2 separate regions of the Homo sapiens genome follow, and region 1 is linked to region 2. Evidence: promoter capture Hi-C in human tissues and cell types (Jung and others, 2019). All regions are on one chromosome and are shown on one strand. Each heading gives the region's core, a stretch centred on a gene start or on the middle of the fragment in contact. The rest is flanking DNA. Distances are from core to core; before and after follow the strand shown.

Evidence for each region. The method cuts DNA at HindIII sites, captures the fragments that hold promoters and counts their contacts. A contact is called where the count stands out against the background at its distance.
Region 1: a contact is called between a fragment that was not itself captured here and the fragment with the promoter of ZBBX in region 2, in 1 of the 25 tissues and cell types used here (dorsolateral prefrontal cortex).

Annotation. Positions count from the first base shown.
Region 1 is chr3:167,760,854-167,764,370 of GRCh38, reverse strand. The region is part of intron 1 of SERPINI1 (serpin family I member 1); the gene reads right to left. Among named protein-coding and RNA genes, the nearest start is that of SERPINI1, 27 kb to the right of the region's middle. The HindIII fragment of the contact is 3,198 bases long and covers 334-3,517 here.
Region 2 is chr3:167,378,624-167,382,043 of GRCh38, reverse strand. ZBBX (zinc finger B-box domain containing) reads left to right here and starts at 1,747. Exons shown (of 22, transcript NM_001199201.2): 1 at 1,747-1,797; 2 at 2,252-2,406. The HindIII fragment of the contact is 5,963 bases long and covers 1-3,420 here.

The sequences.
Region 1 (3,517 bases), core at 683-3,182, 380 kb before region 2:
TGCTCCTCCTTGCCTTCCACCATGATTGTGAGGCCTCCCCAGCCACGTGGAACTGTAAGTCCATTAAACCCTTTTCCCTGTATAAATTTGGGTATGAATTGATCAGCAGCGTGAAAATAGACTAATACAAATGTGTTTGGCTTAATAATCACAGCAGTTAGCACCATCTGTTGATTGCTGTCCTCAGTGCCTGTGGCAGGAAGGCTCTCTGTGGTCAGTTTTCTTTTTGGTTGTGGCTCTCTTGCTGTTCCTTACTTTTTAGCCATTATAATTGATGCAATTTAAAAATTATTTAAGTGTTTTTTGCAATAAAGATACCAGGAAACAAAAGGTGTCCTTGGGGAGTGAGTTAAGATTTAGATCCTAGTATAATTCAATAGTGTGTGCTCTCTAAAGATCATTAGTATTATTAATGTGAGGCAAAAGTTCTAGATTAAATAGCTTTTGGGAGAATATAATTTATTCAGAATGACATGACTTTAAAGTGTTTTCATAACCTATTATTAAAAAGAGAGACAATACAACTATTTCTCAAACCTGGCACTTCTGAGTGTGTGGTCTGGTGATTGCTACTTCAGAATTTCCTAGGAGATGGTTAAAATCCAGTTTGGGGGTTACATCACCAAACTCTTGAAAAAGAAATTCTACATATTGACCTCAGTTGCCTGTATTTTTAACGGATATTTCAGGTGATTGTTAGACACACTCAAGTGTGGAAAACGAGCTGGTAGAATACCAACTGGGATATGCCTGTCAGTAAAATCGTGGTATAGCAGCCTGAGCAACATGTTGGAACTGCGTCTCCACCAAAGATACAAGATAAATTAGCTGGGCGTGGTGGTGCACACCTGTGTTTCCAGTTACTTGGGAGGCTGAGGTGAGGGGATTGCTTGAGCCTAGGAGGTGGAGGTTGCAGTGAGCCAAGATCACACCGCTACACTTGAGCCTGGGTGACAGAGTAAGATCCTGTCTCAACACACACACACACACATACACACACACACACACACACAAAACTGTGGTTGAAATATGACAGTGGTGGCATGAGAGGAATGGGAAACGAGGAAATAATTGAGCAATAATTACAAGCCAGACCACTTATTCCTTTGCAATCTACTAGCTGTGATTTTTATCTTTTTTTTCTAGCATTATTGCCTAACATCAATTTGCTCCCTAGACTGCAAGCTCCATGAGGAACAGAAACCACATCCGACCCACTTAGGACTACCAGGACCTAGCCCACTGCTTGGCCCAAGTCTGCACTCAATGTTTGCTGAATGAATGATTTAGGTATATTTTCCCTACTTACACATGAGCCAACTGAGACCTGGGGACTTTGGGTAGATTACCTAAAATGACACAGCTGAAAAATAGTAAGCAGAGAATCAATCAGGTCTGGCTCCAAAGTCCAGACCCCTTCCTTCCCAACATCCCCTCCTTGAATTGAATGTCACCGGGCATTCAATTTGTTCGTAAAGGAGGCTTCTATCTACTTTGCCTGTTAAACATTCAAGTCTTCAAAAACCTCTGTAAGGAATTTTATTTAGAAAATAAGTCATGTAGAATATTAGAATGTGATAAATATCCTGGAAAAAAAAAACCTCAGTGAAAGGGGATAAGAAAGTAAGGAGGTGAGAGGGAGTATCGCAATTTTAAATAAAAAGATTAGGAAGCTTCACTGAATAGGTGATTTTTGAACAAAGGTTTCAAGGAGGAAGGTGAAGAAGCTAAACTCTGGATATCTAGGGTCAGAAGCCAGGGATTAGCAAGTGCAAATGCTGAGGAATGAGTCTGGTTAATCCACAGATCAGCAAGAAGCCAATACAGGTGGAATGGGGAGGCTGAGGTGGAGAGTGAAACTGAAAGCCTCATTAGACTGAGTTAAGGAAGAATGGGGAACAAAAATTTAGAAACTGAGCAAAGAAAACTCTTGAAGAACAGTAGCTGGGTGGAGAAGGGAGTAGTCAAGAAAGAGTTTTCTTCGTTTTCTAGTTTGTTTAAGACAGGAGAAAAAACAGCACGTTTGTTTCCTAGGGGTAATGATCTAGGGGAGGGGGAAGTTGATTATTTGGAGGAGAAGGGCACTGCAGGAGTGGTATCATGAGGAGAGGAGAGGGAATGAAGTCTAGAACACAAGCAGAGGCATTGACCTTATAGAGAAGCACCGACAACGTATCTATAGAAACAGGAGAAAAGGTAAAGTACATGGGTACAGATGCTTTTGGGTGGAAACAAGTGGTAGTGAGTGTGGAAGTTTTCTGAAGGTTTCCCTTTTCTCTGTGAAATAGGACATGGGGTCCTTCATCGAGACCAAGGGTGGAAGGAGGTGCTGGAGAACCTGTCTTAAGAACGTTTTTCATGGCATTCTACTTATAGGGAAAGTACCATACTAGGTATTTCTGCTTAAACATATGGAAATATCTTAAGCACAGACTCCTGCCAAGGTAGTATTACTCATCTTTGCTTAGAATTAGTTTGGAAAATAAATTGTACAAGTAATGAATTTTGAAAAATAAATAGAGATTGAAAACCTTCTCCTCTGTTCCCATTTGTGTTGCAAATTTATTCTCCCCAAGTTATTTCATGTTCTGAATGTCACTGAGAAATTTGGTAGATTGCTGAGCTGCACCCCAGAAGTGAGTTTCTAACTATAATTTAATTAGAAGGGTCATAACTACGTTTTACCATATGGGGCTGCCAGATGTAATCAATGCAATATAAGTTTGAAGAAGACATTATTGAGTGTATTGAAGCACATTTTATAAGCAATGAAAGCTATCATTTATGCAACAGAAATTACTCTAATGTCTTATGGAATTAGGACATGAGTAGACTATACAATGGTTGGAGGGTGGGTTAAGGTAGAATGAGCCTACACAAGTCAGATAATAAAGGTATTACTCACTAGTCCTCCACCCCACCACATCAATCAAATCTTTAAGGCAAACATGGCTTAAAGTTTTTATGCTACTACATTTGATGATACAATTAGAAATTGTTACAATTGGGAATTTAGTTTTATTAACAGAGAATCTGGGCAAAGGCATCAGCCATTAAATAGAGGCCCATAAAGTTTTTAACCTGGGGACAATGAATAGTTTAACAAACTAAAATTTCTATCACCAAACTTTTCATCTTTTTATTTGGGTTCTTCAAGCCTCAAAGCTGTTGCAACCCAGTGGCTAGTCTTGCAATGGATACACTTATAAAAACACCTGCAATCCCAAATGTATTAAGTCTATTGTTCGAAAGTCTGAAGGCAGGCTTGGGGCAAAAGATCACACGTGAGTAAACCATATGAGGCACTGTTTTCTCCCTCTCTAGGTTAGGTTAAAGGTTCTTATATAAGCAAAGAGTTCATTTGTTCTAAGGAACAGCTGTTGTACTAGTGTTAAATCTTGTTCAAATACAGATGCATAAATTCCGCATGTCACCAAAACAATGACACAAGCTCAAGATCCAAAACTACCCACCCTGCAGAAAATAATCATTTGGTTTAACTCTGCCTGAACTTGCC
Region 2 (3,420 bases), core at 498-2,997:
GAGAAGTTATTTGCAAAATAATCTTTACTGGGACATAATTGACATGTGTTTACTGTTCTCTCTGGACTGTTTCTTCCTCTAGTGGCCCATGTCTTTCTCTTTCCTTGCATTCAGATACTTCCCTGGCCATCTACCCTAAAACAGAACTCAATTAGTTTCTATTTCTTTATTTGGCTTTAGTTTTCTTCATAGCAGCTGACATGCATTTATACTTGTTTATTGCCTTTCTGCTCCTGTTAAAATATATTTGAAAATAGGAGGGGCTTTGACGATTTCTTCACTCCAGTATTTTTGGGATCTAGGAAATGGACTTTCAATAAATATTTGTGGAATAAATAAATAAATGAATAGATCAGTAAATGGACGAAAGCTGAAAATATCTTTGGTAATTTGAAGAGCGCGCCTGTATGGGAAATAGTCTGTGCAAGAAAACCAGTAGTATCGCACATCCACCTGAAACTAGTTCTTGTATTAAAGTTAAAGGAAGGACGTGGTAAAGTTATACCATGAACACGTTAATAGCAACCATCATAGCCACACCAGCACCACTGTTTCTTACTGTTTATTAAGCACTCAATATGGGCCTGGCTTAGAGCTAAATACTTAATATTTATTGTTTCATTTACTCTTCCATACTACATTACGTATGGACTAACTGTACTGTTATCTCATTTAAGCAGTTAGACTGAGCATTGTTACTTGCTCATGGTCACACAGCAGGTAAGTTGTGGCAGTACTGGCACTCAATCTTGAATCTGCCTGACTCCAAAATCCAGACTTATAACCAGAAGACTACCATTGTCTTCTCTTATCCATAGTGGTTGTAATCTTATATAATTGAATATGCCAAGTGAAATCATTATTTTTTTTTAAATGGGTATTGGCAGGCATAGTAATGTCAAAAGTAATGGTGTAAAGATTAGTACATTAACTGTAATAGTTAGGATTGTTAGTCTGGTACCGAGACAGATGCAATGTGGTTAAGCATAGAAGCCTATACAGTGCAGTACCAACCACACATCCTACTTGCAGTATTTAAAAAGGGAGATAAAAAACAGCATATTTAGGAAGCCAAAGATAAATTCACTACAGGTGCAGCTTTGTTCGGAAGAGTTGAGTTGAGAATTGTGGGTTAACTGTGTGTGTGTGTGTGTGTGTGTGTGTGTGTGTGTGTGTGCATATATTTGCTTTTGCTTTTTGTTTTATACCCATTAGACTCCACGGGTCATGTATTCGGTACAAAGAAAAGAGAGTTCTGGACTTTTGAAGAGACCTGGAATCTCTATTGACTTTGCCTATGGTAGCCATTGATAAATCATTTAAACATAGCATAAATGTGGGAGTTCTGAGACTAAACTCCTTGAATTAATTTGTAGGTCTGCCATTTGCTAGCTTTGTAATTTTGGATTAAGATAGTCAAATTTTTTGTGCCTTAATTTTTTTAGATTTAAGCTGGCTTGCTATGAGGAAGAATCAAATATGACATATAAGTCTCTCACTTGTGCTTGGAATATGACACATGCTCAGGTTTAGCACATACATAATCTCCAAGATCCTCTCTGGCGGAAAGCTTCCAGAGCCTGTTGAGTTTTTCCGCCCTTTTCCTTCCTGTGATCACCATTCTCTCTCATTTCGCAGGCTCCTTTTCGCCCTCTGCCGGCGGACAGTGGCAGAACCCAGCTTTCTGGTTGCTATGGGTACCGAGGTAACGCGGTAACCAAGGAGACCAAGACGGAAACTCCCGGCAGCTATCCGCGGCCATCCGGCGGTGGTGACGCGAGAGGCTGGGGTCTCCAGGTGGGTTGTCTGTCTGCGGGTGGATGAGAGGGGAGGATGGTCTCTGAGTCCGCCTAGCGGGCAGCAAGCCCGGGCTAGTTGGTGCGGGGAGCAGAGCGGGCAGCGCGGCTGGGAAGCAGACTCAGCTCGGGTGGAGCTGGAGGCACCGGCCCAGCAAGTGTTTGCTGAGCCCCTGCCATAGGCTGACATAGTGCCAGGCCTGCAGGCAGCAGGACGGGGCCCTGGCCTCAGGAGTTGAAAGCCTTTGGTATACACCAAAGACTTCCCAGCCCAAAATGCTAATGGATAAATGAATCAAGAGTGAACCCCAGACAGTGAAATTGGGGACTTCATCAGTTGTACCCCTTCTGCAGCCCGACCCTTTCAAATACTAGCCCCTTTTATCCTTTGAAGTCATTTGCACCTTATGAAAAATTTGGCACCCTGAGAAACCATATTTCATCCCCTTTTGTAGCCTTTAGTCTGCCTGCGCGTTCACATGCACCCACTTACTTCTTGAAGTCTACTCCTCACAAGTAAGGGCTATGGTGCGGGGTGCCCGATTCCTGAGAAATCTGAAGATGTGGAAGTTTATTTTTTCTTCCCAAAATCAGCAGTAGAGGGACTCAGGTATGTAAGGTTCAGTTATATATATTTTATAGCTTGACTTAAAATCTAAAGTTAACAAGGCTCATTAAAAAATATAGTAAAGTTGAAACTACACAGGATTAAAATTATACAAACTGTATGCTTATGCAAATGTAATGACTCCCTCTGCCTTTCTCCAATTTAGCTTATCTTATAGTCTACACAGAGGGCTGCCCTGACCTGTCATAATTTTACCAATTGTATTACAAATGAATTGTTTGAAAGTAGTTCCTTTATGTCTTTCAAGACACTTAATAATTCTTGCAATTATTTTATTCGCTTTTTAATTTTTACCTACTTCCTTCACCAGAGTGTAAGTTCAGTGAAGACTGGTATTATACCTGTCTGGTTGACCTTGATCCTCAGTGCTTAACCTGACACCTGGCAGGGAGAGAGTGTTCAATGTATATTTGTTGATTGCTCATCAAGATCGTTAGGAAACATGGAAAAAAGAAAACAAAAAGTTTAGTTGAAGTGGGAAAGAGGGCGTGTTTAATTTTTTCCGTAGGGTAGGTTGTGCAAAAAACTAAAAGCAGTAGAAAAAAAATTACATACTTAGCACATTATTATTGGCACTACATTATGTATAGGGACTGTATTGATTGCTGGGGTTTCAAAGGTCAATGGTAGGACCACTCTCAAATATTTGGGCTACTTAGGGAAACAAAATCTATATAAACAAAGATGCAAAAAATAACACAAGGTAACATACAATAGCAAATGAGTTTAATAAACATGGTCTTTCTATACAAGGAGAAGCTCGGTTTCGATGGAGGGAATCTTCATGATACAGGCAGCCTTCGAATTGAGCATTGAGTAGAATAAAACTTGGTGAGCAGAGAGGTAAACACTAAAGCTCATTATGTAAAAAAGATGAAAGCAGAGATGCTAAGGGTAAAGCACAATCTTGATGCTCCATTTTCTTCTCTAGGTAGTTTCTAAGGCTGTGCCTTCTCTAGGTAGTTTCTAAGGCTGCCCCTTTCCCTGAACCGTGAG